Regions from separate parts of the Homo sapiens genome. Here regions 2 and 3 are each linked to region 1. The links are contacts of gene promoters, found by promoter capture Hi-C in blood cells and fetal thymus (Javierre and others, 2016). All regions are on one chromosome and are shown on one strand. Each heading gives the region's core, a stretch centred on a gene start or on the middle of the fragment in contact. The rest is flanking DNA. Distances are from core to core; before and after follow the strand shown.

The links. The method cuts DNA at HindIII sites, captures the fragments that hold promoters and counts their contacts. A CHiCAGO score of 5 or more calls a contact.
Region 2: a fragment that was not itself captured here is called in contact with the fragment with the promoter of IL36A in region 1 in 1 of 17 cell types (M1 macrophages); the score reaches 5.5 in M1 macrophages.
Region 3: a fragment that was not itself captured here is called in contact with the fragment with the promoter of IL36A in region 1 in 2 of 17 cell types (non-activated CD4 T cells and naive CD4 T cells); the score reaches 6.3 in non-activated CD4 T cells.

Annotation. Positions count from the first base shown.
Region 1 is chr2:113,003,859-113,006,950 of GRCh38, forward strand. IL36A (interleukin 36 alpha) reads left to right here and starts at 1,601. Exons shown (of 4, transcript NM_014440.3): 1 at 1,601-2,023; 2 at 2,116-2,229; 3 at 2,740-2,879. The coding sequence starts at 2,014. The HindIII fragment of the contact is 6,987 bases long and covers 1-3,092 here.
Region 2 is chr2:112,771,802-112,774,893 of GRCh38, forward strand. It overlaps IL1A (interleukin 1 alpha), which reads right to left. Exons shown (of 7, transcript NM_000575.5): 7 at 2,124-3,092. Among named protein-coding and RNA genes, the nearest start is that of CKAP2L, 8.7 kb to the left of the region's middle. The HindIII fragment of the contact is 1,340 bases long and covers 794-2,133 here.
Region 3 is chr2:113,136,920-113,140,011 of GRCh38, forward strand. No RefSeq gene overlaps it. Among named protein-coding and RNA genes, the nearest start is that of IL1RN, 11 kb to the left of the region's middle. The HindIII fragment of the contact is 236 bases long and covers 1,332-1,567 here.

The DNA of each region.
Region 1 (3,092 bases), core at 351-2,850:
GTGCTTCAACTTTAAGTTTTTTAGTCATAATTGTGTAAGCTGAACCAATTAAGATGTCTATGATATTGGCTATCATTTCTGCTGTTAATATTCAGTCCTCTTCAACTAGGGCACAAAAAGATTAGTTTTTTCCTTGCAAAGTGATGTGGATGGTCTGCTGCTGCAGGTGCTATTTTCAATATTGTCTCACTTCTTAAAATGAGTTATCCATTGTAAACTGCTGATTTCTTTGGGTCATTGTCCCCACAAACTTTTTATAAGCCATCAATGATTTCACCATTCTTCCACCCAAGTTTCACCATAAATTTGATTTTTGTTCTTGCTTCAATTTTAGAAGAATTCATGTTGATCTTATAGGGGCTCTTTTCAAACTGATGTCTTACCTTTCTTAGTGCCTCAAACTAGATCCTGTTCAAACACCTTATAACAAGTTAGTAGGAGTTTATTTTGGTGCAAAATAATTCAAAATCCATGCATAGTTTTTTTCATAATATGCATTTTCCATGAACTTTTTGATGACCTCTTGTATGAAAGGGGATTTATTAGGGGAATGAACTCATGCAATTTTGGAGGCTGAGAAATCCCATGACAGACCACCTGCAAGCTGGAGACCCTGGGATGCAGGTAACATGCTCAGTTCAAGTCCTAAAGCCTCAGAACTAGGAAGCCACTGGTGTAATTCTCACTTTGGGATAGAAAGCCTGAGAACCCAGGGAGATGCTGATATTAAGTCCTGGAGTCCAAAGTCTGGAGTTATAATGTCCAAAGGCAGGAGAGAATGCCCCAGCTCCAGGAGAGACAGAAAATCACCTTTTCTCTGTCTTTTCCATGCCATCCATGCCCCCGGCCAGTTGGATGGATCCCACCTACGTTGAGGGTAGATGTTCCCCACTAGTACACTGACTTACACACCAATCTTCTTTGGAAACACCCTCATAGACTTACCCCAAACTAATGTATTACCAGTTCTTTAAGTATTCCTTAAACCAGTCAAATTGACACTTAAAATTTACTATCACGCTACCTATACTAGAGATAGTGATCTAGAGTCCATTGAGGTGGCTAGAGTGCTCAGGAGCTGGCTTTGCTACAGTAATACTCCCTTCTTCCATGGAGAAGCAGCATGCACAGTGGCTCTGAGAAGCTGGAGGAGGGTCACTGGAGTGAGTGGGCTTCTGGTCTGAAATTGACCAAGAATATAGTTCCTGTGGACCAGGAGTGATTAGAAGCTACAGAGGTCTTAAGAGACCTATCCCTCCTCAGTCTACCTTGCACTTACTGAGGGCTCCCACTCTTAGGAATAATTCCATCGTTTCATTTTGTGGCATCAGAGATGAGTCATTGACCCGGAAGAAGTCCCGTAATGTTTCTCAACTCAGTATCTGTGACTATATTTCCTGCTCTTAAAAGTTTAGCATGCCCTCATGTTTCAGGTTGCTTGGAGAAGTCTTAACCATGCTGTTCACATAAAGAGTCACTAAATCCTCTGGCATCAGGAACTAGAAAATATCCTGAGTGTTGGGCAGTGCCAGACTTAGTGAGGCAGAACTTCCTTCCTTGCCCATGTGGATAAAAGGCCTGGGCCCTGTTACAGCCTGTCAGAAAACCCAAGTGCAGTAGAAGCCATTGTTCATAATGGTAGGGATACAGGGTCCTTCGTAACAGATTATCAGTGTGGCCTATGCTGGAAAGTCTGGTGACCTCTGATTTTTTTTGCTTCCAGGTCTTTGGCCTTGGCACTCTTTGTCATATTAGAGTTCCTGGGTCTAGGCCTGGGCAGGATTCATAGGTGCAGCTGCTTCTGCTGGAGGTAGACTGCATCCAACAAAGTAAGGGTGCTGGGTGAGTTCTGGGAGTATAGATTCTGACTGGGGTCACTGCTGGGCTGGCCGCCAGTCTTTCATCTGACCCAGGGTTAAACTGTGGCTTGGGACTGACTCAGGTCCTCTCTTGGGGTCGGTCTGCACATAAAAGGACTCCTATCCTTGGCAGTTCTGAAACAACACCACCACAATGGAAAAAGGTAAAGATCCTCGTGGAAGGGCGAAAAATTGACAAGGGGGTGATATTCTGTGCTCTCATTCTTACTAATTTACATTTTGACTTTCTCAACAGCATTGAAAATTGACACACCTCAGCAGGGGAGCATTCAGGATATCAATCATCGGGTGTGGGTTCTTCAGGACCAGACGCTCATAGCAGTCCCGAGGAAGGACCGTATGTCTCCAGGTGAGTAGCCACGGTCTGTGAAAGGCAGCTCCTTTGGCCAGTGCTGTTGTGTGTTTGGTGCTCAGATGTTATTCCACAGTGGGCTTGTTAACCGGGCATATCTACAGAGAGGAGCATCTCACAGACAATAATGAATAGAGGGTGAGCATAAGGTTGTTCTGGGACTATGGTCATGAAGTCAGAGAAGAGAGAGAAGGCTTAAGGGAGACTGAAGGGTCAGCCTATGAAAAACAGTGGAAGACGTATTCTGAGAAACTTCAAGGAGTAAGAGTAGGACAAAAGAGGGTAATCTATGGGAGGACCAGTTTTTGAATCCATGAAAGACTGACTTTTCTAATGGAAAGTGTTCCCCAAACATAGGATGGGTGTCCCGGTTAGGTGGTGGGTGGTGAGGTGACCATTCTATGAGTGCACTGTGAGTGTCAGTTAGCAGATTCCCTTAAAACTCTGGCTCAGAGGTACCACCCTGGAAATGGCAGCTGAACACCACTTTTCACATCGTGTTCCCAGTCACTATTGCCTTAATCTCATGCCGACATGTGGAGACCCTTGAGAAAGACAGAGGGAACCCCATCTACCTGGGCCTGAATGGACTCAATCTCTGCCTGATGTGTGCTAAAGTCGGGGACCAGCCCACACTGCAGCTGAAGGTGAGTGTGGAAGACAGGTCCTGCCATTTATTTGATGGAAACTCAGATTTCAGGATCTTTTAAAAGACAATGTACTTATTATGCTCATGCATTTTTATTTTTGGTTTCCTTGGGGTTGGTATATGTTATGAAAGACTAAGAAAAATTGCAGGGACATTTTGAAACAAACCTACTAAAATGACTTATTATTTTAATTTACAAAAATATTAATAA
Region 2 (3,092 bases), core at 214-2,713, 230 kb before region 1:
AGCGTAGGGGTTTTTAAATGTCAGAGGAGTCTACTCAGTGGGAGGAAGGTTAGGGAAATATCTTTTGGCTTTTTGCTTCTGTCCCTTGGGTTTAAAGGCAGGGATTTGGCTTTACTCTCATTGATTTGGAACTTGATATATAGGACTGTAAGAAAAGAAATAGACTGTAACAAGTTCTGTGCTAAGACTGTTGAGTCTCACCATGGTGACTCTCTTACTGTTTAGGCAATGAGGGAGGTGGGGCAGACCATAAGGATAGCTGGCCTGGGAGAATAACGCTCCAAGGCCATTTCTACAATGATTCCATATTTCACTGTTAATCAGAGACTGAGCAGCTATTATACTTTTTAAGATTTCTTGAATTTGTGTTGCTTGCTCAGTGTTTTGTATTTCCTTATTTCTTAAAATATATTAATATAAAAATAATTCTTTAATATTTCTTAAAACAAAAGGACATTAAGGAATCAAGTCTTACTTAGTCTTGCTCTAGCCAGACTTGGGCTAAGGAAACCCTAGGAAAGTCGTGGCTGCTAGAAAGAACAGGATGAGACAAATGAGAGACCAGTTCTCTGTGGTGCTCTGTATCAGTTAAGCTAGATTTGACTGCAAGTCATAGCAAACCCAGTGAAATGGCTTAATAACAGTAGCATTTCTTGTTTTCTTAAAATCTGGAGGTAGGTTCTCGGTGTAACAATGTTGTCAGAGATGCTGGCTCTTTTTCTCCTTCCACTCTGCATTCTTCATTGTGTGGCTCTGACTTCCCAGTCGTTGCAAGTTGCTGACCACAGTTCTAAGCTTCACTTCCTCATAGAACATATCTCATTCAAGGAAGAAGGAAGATAAAGGACCATCTATATGGCTCTTTATTTTATCAAGGTAGAAAATCTTTTCCAGAAGTTGTTTCCAGATCGACATCTCATTTGATAGGATTAAGTCAACGTGACTTAGTCATGTAAGAATAGAATGAACATAATCTTAAACCAATTGGATTCATCAATTGGGGAAGGGCATGTTGACTTCTCAGTGAAATCAGGGTTCTGTCAGTAAGGAAGAAGAAGAGATGGCAATTGCATGGACAAACAACAGTGTTCACCATATACTTCTCTTCTCCCTTTGACATCACTTTTAGGATTTTATCTACTACATACCTACTGATGTCTTTCATATCTATATACAGTTATTTTTCTGAGTTCCAGATAGGTTATCATCTCCCCATTGTACATCTGCAATTGAGTGTCCTTCTAGTAGCTCAAATTACATGCCTAAAATTTTACTCATCATTCATCCTGGAATGGAGAAGACCTCCATATTTCTACCAAAAATATGGTTAAGACGCTGCCACTCATCCAGTCTCCAGTACCAAGAAACAGGGTCATCTTAGACTACTCCTTACCCAAATCTACCACACCTAATTCCAAGATCCCTTGATTTTAACCTTGATTTTCCAACTAAATATATCTTGCATCCATGCTTTGATCTATTAGTTGTTCTTTTAAAATTCTCTTTTATATATTTTTTAACATTTTTAAAAATTTATCTTTTGAGACTGGGTCTCACTCTGTTGCCCAGGTTGGGGTGCAATGGTGTGATTATGGCTCACTGCAGCCTCCATCTCCCAGGCTCAAGTGATCCTCCCACCTCAAGCCTCCCGAGTAGCTGGGACTACAGGTGTGTACTACCATGTCCAGCTCATTTTTTAATTTTTCATTTTTTTTTGTAGAGATGAGATCTCACTATGTTGCCTAGGCTGGTCTTGAACTCCTGACCTCAAGTGATCTTCCCACCTTGGCCTCCCAAAGTGCTGGGATTACAGGTCTGAGCCACCGTGCCTGGCCTATTAGTTGTTTTTAATGTAGCTCTGTATGTGTGAGTTTGTATAAAGATGGGAACACATGTTTTGTGTATGTGTAATGTGAGCTTTAAGTGAACCCGGAAATATTATCATTCTTAATGCCATTTATGCATACTGGCAGCTAACAAAGAGGAGAAAAAAATATAAAATCTTGGTTTGATTTTATAAAGTAACACTAAATACAATTATTTATGTAAACATTTACCATTTGTCCCTAATTACCATGCAGTAAAATAATGATTAAGGCAATGAATAACTATGTGTCAGAGAATTTTGTTGCAAGCTTTATTTAGTTATGACTGATAACACTCTATCAATCACTATTGTTGATAATAATGTAACATTATGGTCTGATCACAATTTTTAGAACCTAGAAGAAACATTGATTACATTCCAGAAAAGAAAGTTTTGATAACAGTGGTCTCATGGTTGTCAAAGTTGAGTTCATCTAATTTTAGCTTGTAGGACTTGATTGCAGGTGGAATTGAAACAAGAATGCCCAGGTAAGTTTAATGGCAAAAGAGTCAAAGATCGGACCAATTACTGGCTCAAGGTAATTAATGTACATTTATTATATGATTACAGGTCTCCCAAGTACTAGAATGCAGAGTTTCCTGGCTATGGGATAAGCACAACTTGGACCAAAATGCCCTGTATTAATGAAATCAAACTTACTTATCCCAGAAAACACTGTCTGCTATTGTGGAGGATGCCTGGTCACACTCAGAGGATGAAGGGGTTCCCATAAATATAGTATATTATAATTATCTTAAATATATTTATAAATACATATATAAATAATAATTAAAAAATAACATTTCGTGCTTTGCCTTCATCTTGAGGCTCGGCTTCAAGAAGTATTTTACCAAAATGACCTCCCTGATTAGCATAAAAAACTGTTGCGGCAGGAAGGCTTAGGTATTATTCCCTCCATTTTGAAAATGATAAAACTGAGGTCCCAGAAACTTATGCTATTTGATTAAGAGTTCATCAGCAACTTAAAAGTAGAAGGCAAACAGTTGAAATGAAATCATGAAATCCTAGGTCTGTGGCTTCTTGTTTCAACTGCTATTGTGCATATTTCTTAGTTTTCTTATGCCTTAATTTGCCCATCTGTAATATGGGTAGAGTCTTTTTGGTAGCCATAGTCAGTAGCTCTGGTCCTCCTAAAATTGTTATGAAGAATAATAATTAAAATGATTGGTACTATGCAAAATATAGGGTGTTCTTTAAATAACAA
Region 3 (3,092 bases), core at 200-2,699, 130 kb after region 1:
TAATTTATTCGACAGGTCAGCAAATTTGAGAAGACTGGGGACTTGGATCAGGAATATTTTGAAGGAAGCTTAGAAGAGGGAAAAGGCCCAGAGTGAAGGATTTTTCAGATATTTGGAGGTTAAGAAAAAAGATATGACCACGAGGTGGCGGTAGCACACATAGGCTTTCGGGTTGATGCTTTAACAGGTTTACACTGGGGAAGGTCCTTTATAGCAGGAATTGGTCAAGGAGGCTATAGTGTGGAGATGGGGTCCTACTCAGAGGGGAAGGAGGGCAAGAGGACTCCTAGGAAAGAAGAGAATTGGAAAGGGGGCTTACATGGCCAGGTGAAGTCACCCAGCAGCACAGCAGGGAATCTCTGGGTCAGAGAGCTCCTATGGGCTGCAGTGGCTTGAGGCCTTTATGGCTTGGGGCTTATCCTTGGCCAGCAGATATTGGATACAGTTTCATGGAGTATACAGAGCAGGCAGGTTCTAAATGGATTACCATAGGCTTATTGGGGCTATGTTTAAAGCAAGTGGATGTGCAAACATTTGAGTTTGGCTTGGTGGGGTATTCCAGGTCTGGTCTCAGCCTGCGGTGAGGAAATTAATAATCAAGGGGCCAGCACTTTATATAGCACAAGGCAGGGGCCATGGATTAGGAAAGCCAGGCCTGGGGTTCATGCTTAAGTGAGGCTTTTGTTCAACTGGGAGGCGGTGCACAGGTGACTGGGAGGTGGAGGGGCTGAGATGGGAGAGAAAAGCACAGAGAGGGAAGACAAGCAAGCCTCAAGAGGATTGTGGCTTCTTCCGTCACTTCTGGGCCTGATCTACTACAACACTACAGAATCAAGGACAACTGTTTGAAAATTCAAGGCTGAATTCAGGTCTTTCATTGGTGAGTCAGAGTTTTCCTACAGACTCCCTGGGGGGCCCTTGGCCAAGCAACCTCTCCTCCCTAGGCCTCAGTTTTCATAAAAGGAGGGAATTGAACTAGATATGTGTCTTCATCAGGCTGACCTGCAGGAGCTTTTTACCAAAAGTGGCCTACCTCCTCCATCCAGAGGTTCTGATTCACTTGATCTGGGTGTGGGACAAGGACATCATGATGCCAGGGCTGAGGCCCTGTGGACCACATAGCTCCTAAGTCAGGGACCCTGAGGTCAAGTCCTCCCAGCTCTCCCACCTGGCCCTGGTAGTGTCTGTCAATACAATGGAGGGAGATGGTCTTTAACTTCAAAGAAAGGCCACTTACCGCATCAGCAGTACATTTTGACTACATGTTAATTTGGGTTGAAGGTAGAAGATTTTCTATTTTCTCAATCACAGGCTGGCTAAAACACATTTCAAGCTTCATTCTGGGGGGAACATAAATTGGCCTTCAACAGGGGGTGTCAAATTGGGGTAAAATTCTTGCAAATCTTGGGGAAACCAAATAAGTTTTTGTTTTCTCTTCACATAACTATGAAATCCCTAGCCACAACAGCAAATCTCAACATGCTTGATATTCAGCCCAGTTCTCTCCATAAAAGTTTCTGGAGACAATGAAACTCATCTATTGGGTTCTTAGCTTTAAACCTGAGAAAGCTTAAAAACAGGGAAGATTAGCTTTGACGTCTTGCCTCTGGGTCTCCTTCATGTGGAGCTAAAAGAGTAGTTCAGGAAATATCCACCAGGGGTCAGCATTTTGTACACACCTGACTGCTCTGGAAAGTGTTTTTGTTTTTTTTTTTTTAAATAGAAACGGGGTTTCACCATTTTGCCCAGGCTGGTGTCCAACTCCCAGACTCAAGCAATCCGCCCGCCTCAGCCTCCCAAAGTTCTAGCATTACCGTGTGAGCCACCACACCCGGCCTGGAAAGAATCTTGACAAGGCAAATAATCAGTTTGGTTCATGCTCTCAAATTAGTGAAGGTCTGGTTTTTCAAGACTCTCTAGGTGTTTCACTCTAAGGAAAAATTTATTTTCATTCACCTATCAATCAAGCTGAGGTGGGGCCTGACTCCTGACAAGTATCCAAATGTTGCCTATTGCCAATGTCTAGTCTCCAAGGGGTGACACCCGAGAAATTCTAAGTCTTCTGTGCCTGCTTTAAAGTCCACTTCCTGTCATCCTGTTATCTGTTGCAGACCTTTTACCTGTATGATTGACTGGTGTGTGGAATTAACACTTCCCTCCTCGGCCGGGGGAACACACCCACATGTTGGAACTCAGCACAGGAATCCCAACGGCGTGCCTACAAGGGAAATGCGTACTTTTGTGTGTTGGTGGGTAGTGGACAGAACTCGTAAAAGAGATAGATAAAATACCCAGGCACTCACTACAGTGGGGAATGGATCTGTTCAGGGGCCAGCTATGCCTGCATTCTTTCCCAGGGACAGTTGACACAGTCAGATGACTCAGGAAACTTGATTTGCTTGGAGTCAGAGCAGAGGAAAGATCTTAGTGACCAGGGACCTCAAGCTGCCCCACCTGAGCGCTCCACCTCCACTCCAAGGGGCTTCCTGCCAAGAGATCAGTATGTCTGTGTGTAGAGTCAAGACACATCTTCCTTAGGCCACAATGGAGTCACACTGACATCTTCGCCTTCCCTCCTTGGCAGTATTTATTATAAGTCACAGGAGTTTAGTTTTCTTTCAACTCAGGCCTGTGGTTGGAGCACAGGGAGCTAGGCTGGGGCTAGATCTTGCTAACCTAGTAGGCAATGGTAAGGATTCTAGTCTGTCCTAAAGCATAAATAGGCCTTGGACACTCTGAAATTTGTCCTTTCACCACCCCATGCTCTACTTCTAAGTGCTCTCTCTCCCCATCTGCACCCCCTAGTTCCTACAAAAATCTCCTCAAAGCGAGGCTCTTGGACAATTTGTTCCATGAAGACATCGAGCACGGTCCATACCAGCCCTCAATAACCCCCTCTTCTAGACTCCATGAGGACCTGTAGCCCAGACCCCTGATCTGCATGGCGCCTCTGGGGTCTTTCCAGAGGTGTATGTTTTAACCATCCCCTGAGCACCTTAAAGTAAAGATTCAGTGTTTTGCTGTTTGTGCTCCCTAGAGCACCTGGGCGCTTATCGGAAACTGATGAAAACTCACTGCCAACATATTCTGAA